Regions from separate parts of the Homo sapiens genome. Here region 2 is linked to region 1. The links are contacts of gene promoters, found by promoter capture Hi-C in blood cells and fetal thymus (Javierre and others, 2016). All regions are on one chromosome and are shown on one strand. The core of a region is centred on a gene start or on the middle of the fragment in contact, and the rest is flanking DNA. Distances in the headings are between cores, read along the strand shown. Region 1 holds the start of SARS1 (seryl-tRNA synthetase 1). Region 2 overlaps SYPL2 (synaptophysin like 2).

Region 1 (5,613 bases), core at 57-2,556:
CAAGTGTGGAATCTCACAATCAAACAAACTACTACAATAGAGGGCCTAAGACATAGAATCAGCACAAAACTCAAGTTAAACAAATATTCTTTTGACATCCAAGATCCTTATAAACAGGAGAAAATCAATTTTCCTAATAGAAATCCATCACACTCTTGGATAGTGGCTGCCTTTGCAGTGTACTGTCATCGACCTAGCTCCCAGATGGTTGCAGACCTATTGCATCAGACAAATCAAATCACAAGTACTTGACAGCATCCGCCCAACCAGCGACCACTCCAGTTAATACAGGCAGAGATTTATGGGCAGATGGTTCTATGGTTTTATTCGGCTTCATGATAGATGCCCGATATGACTCCAAGATCCGGCAGTTCCAGGTTCTAGCCCAACTCTGCCAATGTCTTTAAAGGAAAACGTCCACAAATCACAATTAAACAGCTTCAGTCATTACAATCTTTTGCTCGCCTCCTCACTCCCCTCGCGTTTGATCTACCACGGAAAAGACTTTTCTAATTCTTAAAGGTATGCCCATAGGTCGGGGGATGGCCTTCCGAAAAGCTTCAGGGTCATTTATTTTGGCCAAGAGCGGCCTCCAACGCCCCGAAATGCTTCCGATACCGAAGGAATGAATCTACTGTGTTGCAGAAGTGACGCAGTCTCAGGAGAAGCCTTTGATCCTATCAAAACAAAGGAAAACCACTCTGGCCTTGCTGAAGATGAGAAAAAGACTGGGGGGGACCAAAGATTCGTGTTAGGAAAGCCGCGTAGACCCCACAACCTCCCGCCCCGGCATGTTCTGGCAACCCCTGGGGCAGGAAGGCTTGACAGCTCCCGATGCGCGTGCGTACGCACACTGGCAGCGAACGGCACTGAGCACGCGTGGAAGGGACCTCGCTCCGCCCGGGTGGAGGAGAAAGTGGGATGACCCCGGCGACCAGGCTGTGTTTTCGGGGATGGGGAGAACCTCGGAGCCACCGCACCCTGGGAGGGGGTCTGACGAAGGGTGGAAGCTGTGGCCTCAGGAGCGGTGGCTGGATTTGAGAGAGAAAATTGGGTTTAGCATCAAGGAGGTAACCCGCCCGTCCCGGTACTTACATCGTCGCCACTCGCTGTCTGCCTTCACCAGCTGGTCCACTAGTCCCGGGTCCTTGAAGCGCTTCTCCTGCGTCTCTCGGATGAGGGCTGGGTCCCCTCCTTTATCCACCCGAAACAAATCCAGATCCAGCACCATCTTCTTTCCTCCCGGGCCAACGCTCAGGGAAGCAAGGATCGCGCCGCAGCACTCAGCCTGTGACCGCCGCACTGCGCCGGCGCGCTGACCCGCCCTTCCTGCGCAGGCGCAGCTGGAGCCCGCAGGCGACCCTCCCCGCGACCGGAAGCGGCTGGTTGGAGGCGGGGCCGCGGAGGGAGGGGAGGGGAGAGTGGGTGGGCGTGGGACTATACCTCTGGTTCCTGCTCCCCAGCTCTGCTACAGTCTGCAGGAACTGTGATCGCCACATAAAAGTGTGAATGCCTCAGTTTCCTACTCCTGTCTCAGGCTAGGCAGAGGCCTGTCCCCTCATCCCTAGCTTAGAGGCCGGGGCCTTCACCAGGTGCCCGTTTTCCTCTCACTAGGTTGGGTTCTTCCACTGGGCTCTTTCCCTGAACCTCGGCCGTCTTCTCCATCTTGATACAAGAGGATGGCATATTTAGTCCCAGGGCTACCTCAGCTTAAGATTCCTGCTCTCGTGCCTTAGAAATGGTATACCTTTATTAATCTGATTATTGGATAAACCAAATTGTCACTTTACCAACTCTTAAGAGCACAGCTTTGGGAAAGTGCGGTTGTCTTTTAGAGAGAGACGAGAGAAAACTTTTCCAAAGGGACATTAAGCAGATTTGAACGCCGTATAAGGTGTTGAGGTCATGTCTTGGGTCAATTTGAAAGCGTCTTGAAGAACGGTTTGTATCATACTTTGATTTTATAATGTTCAGACCTTTAAATGAAATATTCTAGTTGCCGAGTGAAGCCAAAGTTATCAAAGAATCTCCCTGATAACAAGAGATTATTTGAAGGATTTGGGAACAGGTGATCTCCTCCCCCACCCCCACCCCCAATCCTTCCACTCTGCAGAAACTTTAAAGCCTCACTTCCAATGCCTTCTCGAAGCTAGATGTGCTAAGACCTTCTTGATCTTATACCGCCGTCATGGACTCCTGAGATGAGGGTGTGACATAGCTAACTATCATATTATTTATTTATAATATGAAATATATTTGGGCTTTGTCCCTGGTTCCTGACACAGCCCCTAAAACCCTTGAATTTCCTGGGTTATACGTAATGGGTCTCTTTGATAACACCTGAGTTTATAATAAGGAGGTGATTTAGGATGGGGGCCCTAGATAACCTTAGGATGGGGCCAGTCACCAGAGAGACCAAGTGATTGGAGGATTGGAACTTTCATCCCCACCCTTCAACCTCCAGGAAAGGGGGAGGGGAGGAGCTGGACATCAAACTCTATAAACGCTCGAACAACAAGAGTTGATGAGCTTCAGGGTTGTTGAACATGTGGAGATGCCAGGAGGGTGTCTTGCCCAGAAAGGTTATGGAAGCTCTGCACCCCTGACACCTTGCCCTATCCATCTCTTCATCTGGCTGTTCATTTGTACCCTTTGTACTATCCTTTATAATAAACTGGTAAATGTTTCCTTGAGGTCTGTGAGCCTTCTCAGCAAATTAATCAGACCAAAGGAGGGGGTAGTGGGAGCCCCAGTTTATAGCTGCTAAGAAGTATAGGTGAAATCTACTACTTGCAATTGGCATCTGAAGAGGAGCAGTCTAGTGGGATCAAGCCCTTACCCCATGGAATCTGACACTACCTCCAGGTAGCTAGTGTCAGAATCAGAATCGAATTGAATTATAGAATGCTTAGCCAATGTCCACTGGAGAATCGCTTGGTGTCTGAGGAACTTACCCCCCAGGGCCCCTCACCACTGCATCTGGTCACAGAAATGTTGTGTGTTGAGTGTGGGTTTTTGTTTTTGTTTTTTGTTTTTTGTTTTTTTTTGCCTCTTACACTATCCCTGCTCCCCAAAAAGCCTCTGCCAAGCCAACCCTGAAGTGTAGGTCAGGTCTAACAACAATGATAGAGCTAAGTAGAGACCCTGAGGGAGGCAGAGGAAAGGGGCTTGTCTGGGTGTGCTCTCCTTGGTTCAACCTGCCTATGGTATTAGATTTAAAACCAGTGGAAAGGAAGGGTGAGGAGCTGCAGTCTTGGAGGAAAACATCTAAGAAGACTCTCCTCAAAGTGTTGGGTTCCCTAAAACCTTCTGAGGGCAAGGTCTGTGATGGGGGCGCTCCCTGCTTCCATGTCATTGAAGGCACCGCCAAAGTGTATTGCCAATTAAGTTTCTAAAACAGTGGCAGGTGTTTCTGAGGCTGAAGTGATCCCAGGCCTAGGGGAGGAGGGCCACTGGGTCAACCCTTTAGGAAGGTCATCAATGTCATTCAACAAGTGATCTTGAAATTCTGATCTCTCCAAATTTATTCATGCATTTTTACAATTGATCTTATCATTAGATTACAAACATCTCCCTTTAAAATGTTCATATGGGCGGGCGCGGTGGCTAATGCCTGTAATCCTAACACTTTGGGAGGCCAAGGTGGGTGGATCACCTGAGGTCAGGAGTTCGAGACCAGCCTGGCCAACATGACAAAATCCCGTCTCTACTAAAAATACAAAAATTAGTTGGGTGTGGTGGCACATGCCTGTAATCCCAGCTACCTGGGAGGCTAAGGTACAAAAATTGCCTGAACCCAGGAGGCGAAGGTTGCAGTGAGCTTAAATCACGCCACTGCACTCCAGCCTGGGTAACAGAGTGAGACTCTGTATCAAAAAAAAAAAAAAAAAAGTTGATGTTACCTGATGAGTATAATAAATTAACATAATAGCATACTTCATCAGCTTAGAATCGTGGGATTTTTAGAGTTGGAGGGGAGCTTCAGCTATCTGTTAACTTAATAATTCCTGATTTTTTCATCACCTTGTCCCTCATGTTTTGAAATATTTTTGTCTAATGAACATGATTTTTAAAAAATAATAATTTGCCTTTTTTATTAATCAGATCTATATGGCTGCCACCTAGAAATTCTGATCAGCAGGAAATAGGCAGTGTTACTGCACCAAGTAACTCCTGCCAGAAGCTAACGCAAAAACAAATCAACATAAAAACTTTCGTTATGGAGTGATGGTGTGAAGCCCTGCCACCTTTGAATATGTGATTTCTGTTAACCCTTACTACCAAGAATGCTCTTGGGCACTGCCTCTGAGGACTGAAGTGCTCAAGAAGCCCTGACTGGAAAACAGCCAGCCAGGCTAACCCTTTTATTTTCTATATAAGGAAACAGCCCCAGAGAAGATAAGTGATGGAATCAAAACCAGGACACAGGTAAATACCTAAGATAGCCTAATGTTTGGGCTTTGCCCTTTTAGTAGCAATCCTTAGCAGAAAACAGGTCAGTGAGGACCCTGACTATGCTATGGGGCCTGATCTTATAGGGCAGAGACCATTGCGTATTTGCATTTTTCTCCCCACGGGACCTAGCACCCTGCCTTACCCATGGTAAGTGCTTGTTACATCCTCCCTGAGTGAGTGGGTTGCGAGGAAGTAGGCTGAGAGGATGGGAGCTTGTTGCAGGTCAGCGAGCAGAGTCCTGGGTGAAGATACTGCCTTGGGGATCCTGGGCAGCTAGTGGGCAGCCTAGGGGAAAAGAGCAACTGCAGAGACGGAGCAAAAAAAGCGGGTGTGAGGCACCCAACAAAAGCTGCCTACCTCAGTTTTCCCAGTTTGGAGCTGGCTAACTCGGAAGGGTTCTCTGAGGCCTCACTGTGGCAGCCCTTTGTGTTCCTCTGTCTTGGATTTGGAGTAGGGTTTCTCAATGTTCACCGAACAAGTCCGGTCCTGTCACTCCCTTGCTAGAAGTCTTCTGTGGATACCTGTTACCCTCAGGGGAATCCAAACATGGCTGGCAACGCTATATATGATCTGTCCCTACCAGCTTCTCTAACATGTTCCCTCTTTATCTCGTGTGTGTGTGTGTGTGTGTGTATGTGAGACTGAGTCTCACTCTGTTGCCCAGGCTGGAAAACAGTGGTACAACCATGGCTCACTGCAGCCTCGACATTTCCAGCTTCAGGGGATCCTCCCACCTCAGCCTCCCGAGTAGCTGAGACTACAGATGTGTGCCACCATGCCCCAGGCAATGTTTGTATTTGTTTTTGTTTTGGTAGATACAGGGTTCTGCCATGTTGCCCAAGCTGGTCTCGAACTCTTGGGGTCAAGCAATCCACCCACTTTGGCCTCTTAAAGTGCAGGGTTTACAGGCATGAGCCACCTCACCTGGCCCTCTTTATCTCTTAACATTTCCCCCTCGTATTCCCCATTCCAACCTTCTTGTGGCTCCCTTCCTTCCCTCTGAGCCTTTGGTTGCACAAGTTCCTTCTACCTGGAACTCCCTTTCCCTTCTCTGTTCCTCTTACCTGGCTAATTCCTCCTTTCTCCTGGAAGCCTTCTCTTACATCCTCTTTACCCCTCCCTGCAAATTGGTTAGACACCCTTCCCGTTTCCCACAGT
Region 2 (5,527 bases), core at 1,850-4,349, 260 kb before region 1:
AATCTTAAACAAACAAACAAAAACTAATTCTTTCACTGAGGGACTCAAGCATTTGGGGATGTAAATCTCACCCTTTCCCCATCGGGAGGAAATGACTGGCCTGAAGTCAAAAGTCCTGACTCCTAGGTACCCCAGTAATGCACATGTTACTATGGATGGTGTTTAGAGAGGTGAGGAGGTTGAAGGGGGTTGACTCAGTCCTGAGGAGAGATTGGCACAGGGCACATTCACCTTTAGGATGCTTAGTGGGCCAATTGGCACTGGATTGGAAAGTGGTCGGATTCTTCCCTCTTCTTCCTTCCCTGGGAAGCCCTATGGCCAGGGCAGATTGAGCTGGGTAGGAAGCAAATGATCCTTACCCAGTTAACACTGATTCTCAGCCTTGGGGCCCAGAGAGGGACTGAAGGAGGTATCAGGAAGAGGATATACACTAAAGACAAATATGGAACTGGGTCCCAAAGTGAAGAAGCACCAATAGCATCGGCCTGCCCTGGACTTGAGAGGGGATAGAGACTGGGAGAAATAAGGACACAGGGGAGAAATGGGACAGCAAGGGAAGAGGGAACATCCTGTTTTCAAGATGAGAAGGAGAAATATGAAAGAAGGACTAGAGAAGGAGCAGGGGAAAAAACTGAGCAGGGAATAAGGAAAAAATGGGCCCATCCATCCTGGGGCTCTGGGGCAACTTAGCCTCATGATGGTCCTTTGGCCCTTCCTAAGCCCCTGTCTGGCCCCACAGGAATAAAAGGAAGGCCTGGACAGACTTCAAAAAGGATCTCAAATGCCTCAGATGCACGATGCTGGGGAAGGGAGATGGACAGAGAAGTAAGGGGATTAGGAGGCAGGTCCTGACTCCACATTTTTGAGTCCCAAGTGTGAGACCAAGAAGGAGGACAGGGAGGAAGATAGGGCGTTTCTAAAGTAGAGTTTAGAGTGTTGGTGGAAAGTGCCCCAGCCTGGTGGGTGGGAGGATTGAGGGGATAGAAGAAATTGATTCTGCCAGCAAGCTTACTGGCTTTACTTTCTTGAAGCTGCAACTCAGTTGCAATTTATCTTGCTCCCAGCTGAGTCCAGGAAGGCCTCATCAGGACCCTCTGAAGGGCTGTTTTCTAGGCTGGTGGACCTCTCTGGTTCACACATGGTGGATTCTGTGGGCAGGCAGAGGCCAGAGAAGACAGTGGAAGGCACACTGAGTCATGGGATGACTGGAGATCAGACGCAGGGACTAGATGACAGCCACTGAGGAGGGGTCGCCAAACCACTATTGGGGCCTCCACACAAGGGACCAGAGGGGAAGGCTACTAGCTGATTTCCCTTCCCCCTAATATTGTTGAAGCCGGACAGGTTGACAGAAAGGTGGCTGCTAGGAACCAGTCTCAGAGCACTGGTTTCCTGCCCCCAACCCTCACCTGCAGCAGAGGCTGGTTCTCAGAGACTGTAAGGGTACAAGTAAGACCCCAAGTAAGATACCTGGGTCCAGGCACTGCACAAGAAGCACTGAGCTCCTGCCATTCATGGCTCCAGCAAGAAGGAGGATAGGAAGCCACTGAGAGGGCTGCCCAGGTTTCCAACAGCTGATGCCTGCCCATCGTCTCAAAGCTCAAAGACCAGAATGATGGGGGAGGGGAATTGGAGGAGGAGGAAGAGAAAGGTCCTGGAAGCCGGAGGTGGTTGAAGAGGTGCTGTCCAGTTCGGGAATAGCCAGGTGGGGGGCTGCTTACTGCTTCTCCACTGCTCCCTGCTCAGCTGCACTCTCCTGGCTGGGACCCTGGCCCTGGTCCTGGTCCTGGTCCTGGTCCTGGCCCTGGCCCTGTCCATGCCACGGGGTCTCCTTGAACACAAACCAACAGTTCCCGGCCCACAGGAAGAAGTTGATAAAGCCAAAGAGCTGCAAAGACATCAGGGGAATTTGTGAGAATAGTCAGGGGGTCATTGTGGGAACAGGGAGGGGGAGTTCCTATTGCAGTTGGGGTTGGGGCTTGTGCAGGGAAGAAGCACAGAGGACTAGAAAGACTAAGACAGAGAGCTCGGTATAGAGGCAGGGCTCAGGACCATCAACTGTTTAGGGGAATCCCAGGTGAAAGTGTCTAATTCTGTCCACACCATGCACCCAAGCTGTAGCTTGGTCACTAGCAGAATCTGACCCTTTAGAGGAGCATCGTGCAAAGCATAGCAAGGAGCCAAGCAAAAGTCAGCCCTGGGGCGCCTCCCACAGCACGCGTGAGGCCCTGTTCGGAGCACCTTCCGCCAGGTAGGTGTGGCAGGAGCTGTCCAAGGTGCTCCTTCCCTGTGATCAGGCACCTAGCCAGGGCTATGTTCAAATAGTTATTCAACATATTTTAAAAACCTCACAGCAGGAAGTACTTAGAGGGAAGTGTACTGATGTCCCAAATTATCTTTGAAATGCACTAAAAACAAGACGGATTGATGGATGAAGAAGTGAATAAATATGTGATAAAGCAAGTCTAGTAAAAAGTTAATGGCACAGTCTAGGTGGTGAGTGCATGGGTATTCACTGTAAAATTCTTTCAACTTTGTTGTACCTGTGAACATTTCTACAATAAAATTTTTTTGGGGGGGAACCATAAGCAGGGTTCCAGCAAGTTCCAGACGTGTGTTCCTGGTGTGCCAGCCATTAAACATTTCAGATGTGGGAACAAGTCATTTTCAGAGCAGGGCTGAGGTGGCTGGGATGACGGGCAGCATTTGAGAAGCTCAAGACCTCAGCTCTTTACCAATGGATATGGACATATTTCAACATTCTAACAACTGGGATGGCCAAATCCATATGCATCCAGCAGACCCACTACTGCTCCAAAGCCCCTTTCCAGGCTGGAGGGCTGAGTGACAGTAAGCCCCTTCCCACTCATGCTGGGTCTGCTCGCAGCTTCAAGCTCAGCCACAGCCCCAGGCTCCCCTTTATGTGTTCACACACATTGTGTAGAACAGGCAGGAGGAGGGGAGACATCACAGAGAGCGTGCCTAGAGGTGGGGAAATGAGAAGGGAATTGGAGGCAGAGTGCAGAAGGAGGAAGGAACAGAAGGCTAAGTGGCTTTTGGGTTCCCCTCATCCCAAAATGTCCTCTCAGGGTCAGCCAGGAGCCAGCAGCCAGCATGAAGCGCAGTGAGGGCACCAGCTCCAGGTGCAGGGGACACCAGCTCTGGGACACCCTCTCTTTCCTTTCAGGACCTGCTAGCTGGGACAGGCCTGGGCAGCAGGGCTGGTGCTGCTTCCTGCAGTGGCCACAGGTCTCACCACGGAGATGTTGGCCAGGCCCATAGAGGGCGTGGCCCCGGCACTGCACACTGCTTCCTCTCCATGGCACACTGACATGGCTGCTGTCAAGCTGGATGGTCGTGTGGCCCCCTTGACATCGGTCAGGCCCTTGCCCCAGGCAGCTGCAGCTACCAGCCAGAAGAAGGTGAAGGAGACAGTCACACAGAAGTCCTGGGAGGAGCAGAGGGATGGGAAATACACTCAGAAAGGCCCCATGATTCCCTTGCTTCTTTTCCACTTGCCATGATACTGGCAATCCCAGGGTGCCAGGACAGTTGCCTCTTCCCATCCTACCCAACACCTAGAACCCAGGTGGTCCTGAGGCATCTGTTCACTGCCCCCAAAGGAGTCCTGCCACTCAGGCTAGCCCTGCTAATGCCCTCAGATCTAAGATCTGGCAACAGTGTACCAAGGCATCGTTGGTCAGCCTCACCCCAAAACCCACTCATCCCAAGTGGAGCCTAAATTCCCCACTCTTCCCTCCCAGCTTTTTCTTTGATCACCATTGCTCAGATACAAGTGGCAGACTGCAGGACGCAAATGGGGTCCCTTAAGGCACCCCTTCCGCCTTGCATGCCTGGGATAGGAAGAGAGTAAAGAGGAATAATATTAATAATCGCTAATGCTTATTGAGACTAACTATGTACTAGATACATGCATTCTCATTTTTTCACATACACACACAAAACTATGAAGCAGGTATTATTTTATCCCCATTTTATAGTTAAGGAAACTGCGATTTAGAGAGGTTATTTAACTTGTCCGAGATCACACAGCAAGTAAGGGGCCATGCTGGGATCTGAACCCAGGCAGTCTAACTCCAGAGCCTGCTTGTGTATGGTGCTATTGTGCCTCCTGTGAACAGGAGCAAGCAACGGGAGGTTGATGGAGGCAGAGGTTCCACCATGGGGGTGGAAGCCGCCATGCTTGTCCTCTGCTCCAGTTCTGACCTCAACCCCCTCACAAACATCTGTTTCTCCACCCCATTCCTTCTGGCCTGTGCTGACTCACCACCAGCGGGAAGCGTTTGTTCTCTGTGTAGAGGTTGTGGAAGCGCAGGTAGATAACTAGGGCAGCCATGGTATAGAAGAAGGAAAAGATGCCAAGGGTCACGAAGAACTCGGCGGGTGCAGAGAAGTCCCCCATGAGGTGCATGGTCTTGGAGCTGGACTCTTCATCGCAGAGGGGCATCTCATATTGGATCCGGTGCAACCTGCAGGTGGCAGGGGAGGCCATCCTGAGCTCAGGCAATCCTCTCTCTCCCTGGCCCAGAAGTAGTCCTGTGCTAGTTCTCAGCAGGGGACTCTTACAGAGCCAAGAAAGGGGTCATGTAAGGAGGCAAGTTTCTGGAAGGAACCTTGCAGTTAAGATGGGAACTCCCCCGAAATTTCCAGTAAAACTCTACCTTCCCCTCAGCTGCTCCCCAACCCACCCCACTCATCTACCCTGCCCAGACATGGTGACCATGTATTCCCAAGTGTCTCCAGGGCCCTTTAGGTCACAACTGCAATATATGTAGTTCTTCTCTTTCTGGTAGCCAAACCACTAGGCAGATCAGCTTCATTCTGCCTCTGGAAAGTGCAGGCCCAGAGTGGCCAAGATAAGGTTGGAATCACCCATTCTCAGGCTTTATTGGGCTTTCCAATGAGACAGTGGACAAATTAAAGAGAAAAACACAGCCTATTATATATGAGACAGTTAATATAACTTGGGTGCTGATACTAGAAATTTCTGAAAAGGTGAGCCTCATCCCCATTTTCCCCTGAACACCTGGGCTCCCTACTTCCTAAGCTCTCAAATACCCAGAAAAGAGATCACTTCTACCTCCCTGTCAAGGTGTGCCCACTTGTATCCTGGTCGTACTGGCTGAGGATCCCACATCAACTCTTTAGGATGTAAGTACTAATAAGCTTCCCTACCTTCAAGGCAGAGAGGAGGCTACTGAGGGTCAGAGAGACCTGTCCAGCTTGTCCAGGTTCCTGTAAGCCTCCATCCCAAACTGCATTGGCTCTTTCTGTATGAGCTGGTGTGACCTGCCATGGGTTGTCCATGGACTGGAACATTATTATAACAGTGATCAATCTGTATTTCCCTTACGTTTTGCTCTGGTCAATGTGTCTGAAATTGCTAAAAAGCAGAAAGGATCTAAGTTTTGTCATTCTATTTGAATCTGGAGTGGCACGCAATGAATGGTTTTTAGGTTTCTGGAGGAGGAAGAGACCAAGCAGGTCCTGCCAGTCAAGTGAGAGA

Evidence for each region. The method cuts DNA at HindIII sites, captures the fragments that hold promoters and counts their contacts. A CHiCAGO score of 5 or more calls a contact.
Region 2: a contact is called between a fragment that was not itself captured here and the fragment with the promoter of SARS1 in region 1, in 1 of 17 cell types (M2 macrophages). The highest score is 5.3, in M2 macrophages.

The regions. Positions count from the first base shown.
Region 1 is chr1:109,209,611-109,215,223 of GRCh38, reverse strand. It overlaps SARS1 (seryl-tRNA synthetase 1), which reads right to left and starts at 1,306. Exons shown (of 11, transcript NM_006513.4): 1 at 1,096-1,306. The coding sequence starts at 1,231. RefSeq lists an enhancer at 883-1,242 and a silencer at 1,293-1,512. The HindIII fragment of the contact is 5,942 bases long and covers 561-5,613 here.
Region 2 is chr1:109,475,739-109,481,265 of GRCh38, reverse strand. It overlaps SYPL2 (synaptophysin like 2), which reads right to left. Exons shown (of 6, transcript NM_001040709.2): 4 at 4,289-4,490; 5 at 3,257-3,448; 6 at 1-1,888. The coding sequence ends at 1,718. Among named protein-coding and RNA genes, the nearest start is that of ATXN7L2, 5.4 kb to the left of the region's middle. RefSeq lists an enhancer at 3,214-3,733. The HindIII fragment of the contact is 4,180 bases long and covers 1,010-5,189 here.